4 separate regions of the Homo sapiens genome follow, and all the other regions are linked to region 1. Evidence: promoter capture Hi-C in 16 types of primary human blood cells and fetal thymus (Javierre and others, 2016). All regions are on one chromosome and are shown on one strand. The core of a region is centred on a gene start or on the middle of the fragment in contact, and the rest is flanking DNA. Distances in the headings are between cores, read along the strand shown. Region 1 holds the start of RXYLT1 (ribitol xylosyltransferase 1). Region 2 overlaps CCT2 (chaperonin containing TCP1 subunit 2). Region 3 overlaps RAB3IP (RAB3A interacting protein). Region 4 holds the start of CNOT2 (CCR4-NOT transcription complex subunit 2).

Evidence for each region. Contacts are between HindIII fragments. The CHiCAGO score rates a contact against its expected background, and 5 or more counts as called.
Region 2: a fragment that was not itself captured here is called in contact with the fragment with the promoter of RXYLT1 in region 1 in 2 of 17 cell types (total B cells and activated CD4 T cells); the score reaches 7.0 in total B cells.
Region 3: a contact is called between a fragment that was not itself captured here and the fragment with the promoter of RXYLT1 in region 1, in 4 of 17 cell types (non-activated CD4 T cells, activated CD4 T cells, total CD4 T cells and 1 more). The highest score is 9.7, in non-activated CD4 T cells.
Region 4: the fragment with the promoter of CNOT2 here is called in contact with the fragment with the promoter of RXYLT1 in region 1 in 3 of 17 cell types (non-activated CD4 T cells, total CD4 T cells and activated CD4 T cells); the score reaches 9.9 in non-activated CD4 T cells.

What each region holds. Positions count from the first base shown.
Region 1 is chr12:63,778,524-63,781,223 of GRCh38, forward strand. RXYLT1 (ribitol xylosyltransferase 1) reads left to right here and starts at 1,386. Exons shown (of 6, transcript NM_014254.3): 1 at 1,386-1,606; 2 at 2,496-2,651. The coding sequence starts at 1,438. RefSeq lists silencers at 1,205-1,434, 1,451-1,726, 1,455-1,754. The HindIII fragment of the contact is 1,854 bases long and covers 340-2,193 here.
Region 2 is chr12:69,585,654-69,588,353 of GRCh38, forward strand. It overlaps CCT2 (chaperonin containing TCP1 subunit 2), which reads left to right. Exons shown (of 16, transcript NM_006431.3): 2 at 617-691; 3 at 1,100-1,165; 4 at 1,852-1,963; 5 at 2,277-2,353; 6 at 2,497-2,609. Among named protein-coding and RNA genes, the nearest start is that of CCT2, 1.5 kb to the left of the region's middle. RefSeq lists an enhancer at 1-176. The HindIII fragment of the contact is 1,624 bases long and covers 480-2,103 here.
Region 3 is chr12:69,742,046-69,744,745 of GRCh38, forward strand. The region is part of intron 1 of RAB3IP (RAB3A interacting protein); the gene reads left to right. Among named protein-coding and RNA genes, the nearest start is that of RAB3IP, 4.5 kb to the left of the region's middle. The HindIII fragment of the contact is 1,122 bases long and covers 782-1,903 here.
Region 4 is chr12:70,242,114-70,244,813 of GRCh38, forward strand. It overlaps CNOT2 (CCR4-NOT transcription complex subunit 2), which reads left to right and starts at 1,320. Exons shown (of 16, transcript NM_014515.7): 1 at 1,320-1,367. PRANCR (progenitor renewal associated non-coding RNA) reads right to left here and starts at 1,247. Exons shown (of 5, transcript NR_120460.1): 1 at 1,199-1,247; 2 at 711-780; 3 at 68-116. RefSeq lists enhancers at 606-1,805, 980-1,179, 1,910-2,049 and silencers at 739-1,278, 1,350-1,609. The HindIII fragment of the contact is 4,785 bases long and covers 1-2,080 here.

The DNA of each region.
Region 1 (2,700 bases), core at 136-2,635:
GAGGTAAAACAACTCCTTCATTTTCATGGCCCTCTCCCCTATTCAAGATGACATCAACTGCATATTAGTTTTACCTTGTATGCATTTCTCAATAGTAAAACCATTAGTCAGTAGCATCTGAATGTACATTGATACAGTGGGTGTTTTGTGGTAATTATAAGGTAATTACTTCCTATCCTTAAATAATTGTCATTTCCACAAACAAACAAAATAGGATAAACAACAATACAGCATACATAAAACAACTGCCATCTCCCTAAGACACCAGAATAGCCTGTTAATCAAGGAAAGCTAAATTTATTAAATCTACTACAGTAAGGGAGGCCACACTTTGACAGAAGCTTGGCAGTCTCAGAAGGAGAAGGTTGGGGGTGATATTTATAGGATTTGGGGAGTCTGAGCAAAAATGGTTTAAAACAGGTCTTTTGAGGCAGGGAACTGTTTGGGGGATTGGGTAAAGTGTTTGACCTAATAGTTTAGGGTCGGTGCTAGAGTGACCAATTTTACTGATTTCCTAGGACTTTCTCAATTTTAGCACTAAAAATCCTCCAACTGGAGAATCCTTACAGTCCTGGGCAAACTGGGACCATTGGTCACCCTAATTAGCAGACATACCGTCGCAAGACTGCTGGGTAATTTGAACAGTAGTACCAGAGCAACTGACAAAACATTGTAGCCCATCTTCCCAAGGCTGGATACAAAGTTTTCTGAAGCATTCACATTTACAGCCTCTATTTGACAAAATACTGCATGCCTATGTGCGTTCAACTCACATAATAATGAAACTTAACTTTAAAAATGTTTTTATTGCAGTAAGGTATATAAAACATGAATTCGACAGTTTAACTATTTCTATGCATACAAGTGAGTGGTATTAATTACATTCACAATGTTAAGCGACCATCATCACTTAATTTTTTTAAAGGACGTTTATATTCACTCATCTATCAACGTAGTAGGCACTGTCCTAGGCGCTAGGGATTCCATGCAGAGCAAAAAACGTCACAGTCCATGCCTTCACATGGCCTTCATGGACCACCGCGGGTGTTCTTTTTCCCCCGAGTCTTTATGTACTTGGGAAAAGTGGCCAGGGTTGAAAGGTGCAATGAGTACACGGCAGAGGTCAGAGAGGTTCCCACTCAGCCCGGCGTCTGGAAGCAGCGTGGGGTAGGGGCCGCTCCAGTACCCCCTCCTCCAGTGTCGAAGGTGGGCAGGCCCTCGGCCGGGTGGATGAGCCGCGACTGGAGGGGGCGGGGCCTGGGCGGGAGGCGGGCGGTGGGCGTGTCCGGGGCGGGGCTGTACCGGGCGCTGGGCGGAGGAGCCTTGGCTGGGGACTGCCTGGAAACGGGCTGGGCCTGCCTCGGACGCCGCCGGTGTCGCGGATTCTCTTTCCGCCCGCTCCATGGCGGTGGATGCCTGACTGGAAGCCCGAGTGGGATGCGGCTGACGCGGAAGCGGCTCTGCTCGTTTCTTATCGCCCTGTACTGCCTATTCTCCCTCTACGCTGCCTACCACGTCTTCTTCGGGCGCCGCCGCCAGGCGCCGGCCGGGTCCCCGCGGGGCCTCAGGAAGGGGGCGGCCCCCGCGCGGGAGAGACGCGGCCGAGGTAGGACTGGGTCGGCGGCTTCCTTCCGGCTCTGCGCTCCTGGCTGGGGCTGCTGGGCGGCTGGGGCCGGGTCCCCGCACCCGGCTCTCAAGTCCGGGATTACCCGCAGGGCCTGAGAAGCGCTTTGCCCCCTACAGCCTCTCGAGCCAGCCCTTGGCTCGGAATTGGAGAATGGTCCTCATTCTTACCCAGATCTCACACGCCGTCCCCGCTCCCGATCCCAGGGGGTGACAGGCGCGCACGCCTTTCAAACACGTGTTAAAATCCAAGACGTCGTCTCAAATGCCAGAGATTTGCGGGAATGCTCCTGGAAGGCCTCAAAATCGCCGCAAGGTTTAAGACATCCGTTTCCATGTTGAAACAAAGCCCTCTCTAATCCTGCAGTGACCATAAGGCAGACTTTACCTCCAAATTCTGGTCCCCTGTCCTGTGTTTTAACTTGTGTTAAGATCAGACTCGGCTTTCTCTTTCCCTTTATTCAGAATTTTGCACGATAGTATCTAAGACTGGTGAACACTACACTCTGAAGTCAGTTTTTTGTGCATAGGTTACCTGTATACAATGGATAAAAATAATTGCAAAAGTTAAGCTTGTAACTTGATACATATTATCCTGTTATTTTTAAAGGTTTTGTGTTGGGGAAGAGAATTTTCCTGTCTCAAGGTAGCATTTTATTTCTAAGACTTTTCAGAGTAAAAAAAGTTCAGTAAAAAAATTGCTGATTTTCTTTTTTGTTTTCATTGTGTATTACCAGTTTAAATTCAGTTGCTGTACCTCTCAGAAATTAAAGTTAGGATGAAATTAGAACTAACACTTAATTTAAATGATTTGAATTTACCTACAACTGCAATAATACCTTACTGGTAAACACTTACTCTTTTTAAAACAGAACAGTCCACTTTGGAAAGTGAAGAATGGAATCCTTGGGAAGGAGATGAAAAAAATGAGCAACAACACAGATTTAAAACTAGCCTTCAAATATTAGATAAATCCACGAAAGGAAAAACAGATCTCAGTGTACAAATCTGGGGCAAAGCTGCCATTGGTAAGTTAATACGTAGAAGGAAGACATGTAAAAAGCATTATAAAATGTA
Region 2 (2,700 bases), core at 42-2,541, 5.8 Mb after region 1:
GCCATGCGCGGGGCGTGCGGCCTGCGCCAGGCCAGCCGGTGGAGCTCACCACGAGGGGGAGGGGTGGACCGCAAAGCCAGCGTCTCCTTGTGCCTAGGTCTTTGCATAGTCCCGGCAGCCCAGGTCCGCGCCTCACCCGGAGCGAAGAAATTTCTAGTGTGGGACCCGCTCCGCCCTCCTTCTAGGGGCGGAGCCTGGAGCGACGGGGTCTGAGCCATCAGAGGGTGGAGGGGCCGCAGCCTTCCGAGGGTGGAAGATGGAGGCCGCGTTCCCTCGCCCGCCCGGCAGGCGTCACCTTGATGGCCTGCAACCCCTCCCTGCCTCATTCTTAGTTCAAGATCGTCTTTAGTCTCGCTGTACGTAACTGTCAATCTCGCTGGTGTATAATTTATACTCCCGGGGGCCTTGTAAATCCGAAAAGCCATGTCGCTCTCCTACAAGTCCCTCTCTCCCACTTAAATGCTTTCTCCGATGATGGAAGCTTCATTTGATTGAAAACATTGTTGTAAATGAGTTTTCTCTTAGATGTCCACTTGTAAGACTAGTGGAAGGCACCTCAGTGTATGTGTTAGAGTATTGGTACTTAAACGGAATGCCTCTTGGTTTTCCTTTTCAGGCGTCCCTTTCCCTTGCACCTGTTAACATCTTTAAGGCAGGAGCTGATGAAGAGAGAGCAGAGACAGCTCGTCTGGTAAGCCTTGTTCTAAGCATTGTTTTAAAGATAAAACTGGAGGCCAGGCGCGGTGGCTTACTCCTGTAATCCCAGTACTTTGGGAGGCCGAGGTAGGCGGATGAACTGAGGTCAGGAGTTCGAGACCAGCCTGGCCAACATGGTAAAACCCCGTTTCTACTAGAAATACAAAAATTAGCCGGGCGTGGTGATGGGCACCTGTAATCCCAGCTACTCGGGAGGCTGAGGCAGGAGGATCGCTTGAACCCAGGAGGCGGAGGTTGCAGTGAGCTGAGATCGCGCCATTGCACTCCAGCCTGGGCGACAGAGCGACACTCTGCCTCAAAAAAAAAAAAAAGTAAATAAAGATAAAACTGTACTTGAAGACTGTAAAGTTGATTCTGATAATCTCCTTGGTTTTTACTCCAGACTTCTTTTATTGGTGCCATCGCCATTGGAGACTTGGTAAAGAGCACCTTGGGACCCAAAGGCATGGTAAGAAAAATAGAAAAGTTTTATATTTTAATATTGTTTTAGAGCGCTTGGTGGAAATATAATAACAAGCGTATTAAAATGCTTTTTAATCTTTAAAACGTTTAATTATAAAAGACAAGTATGTTCTCCTTAGTAAAAATCAGAGTCCCCAGAATCACCATCCCCAATCCCATGCCCCTCCCCAATGACAAGTACTGTTATCATTTGCACGTACATCTTCTAATATTCTGTTTATGTAGAAGTATGTGTACTTCATTATGTATTTTATACTCATGTAACATACTGTTTTATAAAACAGATACTATTTATCAATACTTTTTTGTAGCTTGCTCTTTTAAATTCCTTTCAGTGTAAGTAGATAACACTGCCCCTTTAACTGTCAAATATTATCCTGTACCTTAATTATTTTATAATTTAATTATGGCTGTATTGATAGTTTCTTTCCATTGTTTTTGCAGTTACGGTGTTGAAACAAAAACTAGTGTCTACCTGTGCTTCTAGTGTTTCTAGGGGTAGATACATGGTTTGGTTACGTGGTGTATGTATTGAAAACATTTGATGAATGGATACCACAAAATAGCTATCCAGAGTGTTTATACACTAGCACTGTGTGAGAATACTGATTGATCCATGCATTCTTCAAGATGTGCTTATGTCTTAACTTGAACCAATTATGTTCCCTTTAGGACAAAATTCTTCTAAGCAGTGGACGAGATGCCTCTCTTATGGTAACCAATGATGGTGCCACTATTCTAAAAAACATTGGTGTTGACAATCCAGCAGCTAAAGTTTTAGTTGGTAAGTCTGAATATACTTTTTCACCAACCTAATAATACTGTTTGTTAACATTTTTGAAATAACTTTATAAATAGGCTGTGTTGACCAATCGTACTGTCAATTGATGTCCACTAGTTGTTAATTATCGTTGTTAAAATACAAGCTTCAGGAGTGCCCGTATGTTGGTGGTAAAACTGTTGCATTTCAGACCTCAGAGTTCCAAATAATTTGTTGAATGAGGAACCCTGGTAAGTTTAGATTGGTAGTGAATATTTTTGGAGAATTTAGTAAGCAAAGAAGCAATTTTGAGTTAATAACTAATTTCTTTTTCTAGATATGTCAAGGGTTCAAGATGATGAAGTTGGTGATGGCACTACCTCTGTTACCGTTTTAGCAGCAGAATTATTAAGGGTAAGAGCAACTAAGCAACTCTTTTTTCCTACTGTGTTTTTGAGTATCAGAGGTAATCTAGTCCTTACTTCCTCTGTCTTTACTATTGAGGAGTGCTTAATAATTTTCTATTTATAACTTTTGTTTTATAACTTTATTAATAGGAAGCAGAATCTTTAATTGCAAAAAAGATTCATCCACAGACCATCATAGCGGGTTGGAGAGAAGCCACGAAGGCTGCAAGAGAGGCGCTGTTGAGTTCTGCAGTTGATCATGGGTTTGTATAGCAAAGTACTACTGTTCTAAACATTTAGTGTTCTTTCATAACATGCTTAATGCAAGAAATCTATAGGACACTGAAAAGCATA
Region 3 (2,700 bases), core at 93-2,592, 6.0 Mb after region 1:
TCATTCCCATATCTTTTATAAGTTCTTCAAAATGTAGAACGCACTTTACATATTTTAATGAATGTCAACTAAGACAAAGTGCTAGGATAGTTGAGTAGTGGAGAGGAAGGACAGATGGATAGTGGGTAGAGATATTTGTGCATTGAGGTAATGAGGGAAAGCTTTGAAGATATTCCAAGGGAGTACGCTTTTTCACACTAAACTTTTTTCCGATATAATTCTGATTAAGATGCAGTTCATCAAAGGATAGTAAATTGGTTACTACGCATTTGATATCCTAAAAACAAAATATCTGAGCTTTTGTAAACTGCTTTCTAGCTTGTTTCTCCTTTTTTATGCTACTATCCTTAGTTGTACCAGATGGTACTCTTTTTAAAAATTTTATGCTTTTATAATACTGAGTACCTCTTTTTTGGTATTTATGAACTTTGATATTTGTGTTGTATTTGTAATTGTTTCTAGGGCCCTAGAAACATGTTTATTGGCAAGGTGGTCTCTTCCTCTAGTCTACAAGTGCTTCGAGAGTAGGGCTTACCTCATTTTATAGCTTTAACATCGGGCCAGGTAAGTACTGTGCTGTGTTTGGTGATGGATGATCAGTTGAAGAATGTTAGGATGTTTTGAAGCTGCTCTAGCAGTAGAAATTGAAATGAACATTGAGAAATGAAGGGACAAAGGAAGGAAGAGGAAGATATTTATACAACTGGGAGCATTAACTTGCTATCTCTATTTTCCCTTCTGCTTTCCTTTTCAACTTACCACTAAATGAGGTAGTTTTATAAGCTTACATCGTACATAGTCATGGTTAGAGAAAAGTGGAAAAAGTAATCTGATTTATCTTAGAATATAGGGCAACACGAAATTAGATAACTATAGCCGTAAACTGATATTACTTAGAGGAAAAAGAATGAAAATTATTCAAATAGTTCAAGTTCATGAAAGATTTGATGCTTGTCGTTAACAGTAGGATTGTAAATATAATCATAATGGCAGTTGATGAAATTCCTCTGAGGGGTATGGATACATACACAAATAAGTATATGAATTGACAGCTTAGTATGAAGAAACTATTCAAGAATGTGAGAATGCCCTATGAGCATAAAGGAGCATATAGATGATAGCTTAGAACCACTTAAATAAGTGAATTGTAATTTGATATGCCCAGATAAAAGTAATAGTATTGAATATTTGTTTGGGAGCATCTGGTTGTCAGATAAGGATAAAGTATAAAAGAAAAACCAAAATAAGTTTGAAAAAACAATAAGCAAATTTGTATCAATTCCCTGTGGGGAAAAGAATCATATTTGAACTACATGCCTCATAAAGACTAGTTTTCCCTTTCTTTCCTTTTACCTAAGATAAATAAAGATACCTTCTGATTTGTAAGACAAACCCCTCAGTATGCTTTTGCTATTTCCCCCATTACATTTTTTTCTTTCTTAGATCTTTATAAAATCATACATTTATGTTGTGCTTTACAATGTATACATTTTTACATTGATATGCCATTTGATTTTCTCAAATGTAGGCAGGGGAGATAATATCACTACCATTATAGATGTCAAAACTGAACCTTAGAGAGATTAAATGACTTGCGTCAGTTCACACAGCTTGTCAGTGACAGAATCTGAACTAGAAGGAAGGTTTTCTGAAGTTAGTCTGTTAAAATGCTCAGGTTTTCTCAAACTTCAATTTCTCCAGTTTTGATACTCTCGCAAAGTATTTACTGTTTCATTTCTATCTTTTTCAGCAAAAATGTAGCCTGAATAACTGTCTCCACTCTTTACCGCTTTGCTATTCATTCCTTCTCTAAAGACTCTTGTTTATTTATTTAGTCAGTGCGTATTTCAGCACCTGTTGAATGTTTAGTTGGCATATATTCTTAAGAGAATATGTAAAATGAAGCTTCCATTATTGAGAAAAAGAAATTTGGAAAATGATTTTTTTAAAAAATTATACTTTTAAGTTCTGGGATACATGTGCAGAATGTGCAGGTTTGTTACATAGGTATACACGTGCCATGGTGGTTTGCTGCACCGGTCAACCCATCATCTACCTTAGGTATTTCTCCTAATGCTATCCCTCCCCTAGCCCGCCACTCCCCCACAGGCCCTGGTGTGTGATATTCCCCTCCCTGTGTCCGTGTGTTCTCATTGTTCATCTCCCACTTATGAGTGAGAACATGCGGTGTTCTGTTAATTTAAATAAATATTTAATTACAAATAAATATTTGTAATTAAATATTAGCTCATTGTATTATTACAAATAATTATTTGTAATTAAATATAATATTAGCTCATAAGTTCAGAACATTTTCTGAAAACTGTCAACATAACACACTGCAATAACTAACATCTCTACACATGTCAGGTTGTACATTGAAGTGTTGTGGAATTAGGCCGGGCATGGTGGCTCACACCTGTAGTCCCAGCACTTGGGAGGTTGAGGCAGACAGTTACTTGAGGTCAGGAGTTCGAGACAAGCCTGGTCAACATGGCAAAACCCCATCTCTACTAAAAATACAAAAAATTAGCTGGGTGTGGTGGCAGGCGCCTGTAATCCCAGCTATTCAGGAGACAGATGTTGCAGTGAGCCGAGATTGTGCCACTGCACTCCAGCCTGGGCGACAGAGCGAGACTGCATCTCAAAAAAAAAAAAAAAAAAGTATTGTGGAATTAGTGGGAATTCATTTGTGATCTA
Region 4 (2,700 bases), core at 70-2,569, 6.5 Mb after region 1:
TGAAATAAATTCACACAATGTCTGCTGATATGTCAAAACACCTTACCTTCAAAAACATGACAGTTACCTTTTATTTTATAGTATGCTTGTGTTTCTTCCTATTTCTTGCTTTTGACCTTCAATGATAAATGTAAACTGGATTACAGTGATTCTTTTGTAAGTAAAAGGTGACTTTTTAAAAGAAACAACCAATGGAAATAGAAATTTTATTTACTTCAAATTAACTGTACTTTACTCAAATAGAAAAGAATAATTTTCACATTATGAAGCTACACAATTCCAAAATACACATGCTGAGGCTCTTTTTAAGTCCGAATTGTCTAGTAATTACAAAAAAGTGAAGAGTTTACAGATATACAAGGAAATAAAGGCGAATTATTGCAAAGAAAACAAGTTTAATTTCACTTTGAATGACAACGATTTTTCTGGAAAGCAGATACTTCACTCCTTTAAGTTTCCACCCAAGCCACAATAATTTCAAACGGTCTTGCGGATGACCCAGCTGGTCACTCTTGTTTATGTGGGGACTGGAGGTAATGAGAGCCAAAAAAAGTGCTATAAACCTAATTTGGCTAGAGCAAGTTCACACGACACGACCGTGCTTTAAAAACTTGCTCTCCATTATGTACTTCCTTCCATCAGGTTGGGGAAAAAAAAATGGTGGGGATGGTGAGTAAACACACCAGTGGTTTCATCAGAGGGGAACTCACTACTCAGGAGGTGACGGTGACGTGGTGCCGGTCCCTGAAGTACGCGCACAAGCTCCGGAGGTTGCGGGAGCTGAGGGAGGAAACAGGGACACGATCAGATTCGCTCCAGGTGGCGGGAGTGAGGAGGGGAGGAGTGACGAGGCGGACGTGCGGGGGCGGGGGTGTCCAACACAAACACAAACACAAACACGAACACGAACACGCTCAGCGTCCCCGGGGAGGGCGGACTGAAGCCACCTCACCATTCATCGCCCCTGGACCCCGCAGTCCCCCTCGGACTCAGGGCCAGAGCCTTCTGCGAAGCAACCTAGCCCCAGGGAAACGGTAGCGGCCGCAGAAGCCCCGCTCTCTGTAACGGCCGCGGAGGAGCAGCAAGCCTCCCTGTGAGTCGGTGGGAGACAAGACGGAGCGGCGGTAAGGGCGGTAGGGAAGTGAAGCGCCTCTCTCCACCTTGTTAGAAGCGCGCTGAAAGCGGCCTGCCTACCCACCCCATCGCTGCCGTTTTGCAGTCGTCGCTCCCACCTTCCGCTGCCGCCTGGAGGGAAGCCGGAGCGACGGGGGTCACGGCGGCGGTCAGAGGGTAAAGGTCTTGCTCCCAGCAGCCTCCGCGGTGGATACGTCGCCATCTTGGATCCGCGGGACAAGAAAATTCATGCGGTGAGTTTTTGGTAAATTTTCGGAAGTCTGGCAGCGGGGCGCGCGGCGGGGGCGGCAGATTCGGGGCCCCCGCAAGGCGGGGGAATGCCCCGGGGCCGGTCCGGTCGCGCCCAGGGTCCGCCGGTAGCGTCCCGGCCCACCGCTTCCCGTTGCTTTTGTCTCGGCTCCAATCGAGAGACGGAGAGCGGAGCGGGCGGGGAGGGGGGTGGCGGCGGTGGAGGGAGGGAGGGGGTGTGTATGGGGGTGGTGGTGGACCGGACGTAAAGCGTCGCTGTACTCGGGCCGCTGCAGCAGCAGCAGCTCCAGATCCTAGGCCCGGTCCCATCCGCGAGTGGTGGGGCTTCCCCAGACTCCACTCCCCTAGGCTCCCGCCAGCGCGGAGGAGCCGCTGCCGCCGCGCTGCTTCCTGGGGGAGAAGAGAAGGCGGCAGCGGCCGTGGCCGTGGCCGACGAGCTCGAGCCCGCTTTAGACGGCTCTGCCGCCTTCCCGGCAGCTGGTGCTGTCTGTGGCTTCTTACCTTCTCTCAATACACGTATATCATCTGCCAGTTATGTGTATTTCTGTTAGTGTGTTTGCAAGTGTCAGATGGGAGACACTGGACTGGCTAACGGGTGTCAGGATCCTGCAGGCCCTGGGATACCGAAGGCTGTGCATGGTGGAGGGAGAAGGAATGCAACTGCGATGCCGCCTCTGCCACCGCACCAGGAAGGTGAAGCTTCCGTAGTGTCGTAGACTGAGTCCGGATGATCCTGGGGCGGCGGAGGAACCACAGACGCTTCTGTCTGTGAAGTTGCAAGTCCTGGGTTTCTACTTCCGCAGGGGCCTCTCCACCTTTTGCTGTCGTAGGTCTCGCTTAAAAGTTTAACAGAAGAAAAGAGTAGGGTTAAAAGAGGCCTTTGTAGTTCTTCATTGAAGCACTGTTGTCTGTCCGGGTGAAAGCTGATAACTCTTGGTAACTGTGGTCCTTAGCAAAAGAGAATTGGAGTTTTCTTTTATACAAAGTATTTCCAAGGTTTTAGACCTTATATTTATTCCAGGCCTGTAGGTACGGTATTACTACCACAAAAGTCTTACATTAAGGGTACCACCCTCTCAGAGGGAACCTAAACATCAACTTCCTTCGAATCCTTGGAGACATCTTCACTTTTCAACATCCGGAAGACTGAGTGCAACATATTTTGTTTCATTTTCATAAAAGTCTTGGTCAGAGAATCCCACTCCTTTTAAAATCGTTTGGGCAATTCCTCATAATTAAGTACACTGCTTTGAACCCTTAGTTCTTGGCGAAATGGTAAAAAGTACTCAGTTAAAATCAGTTCACGAGGGAGGCCAA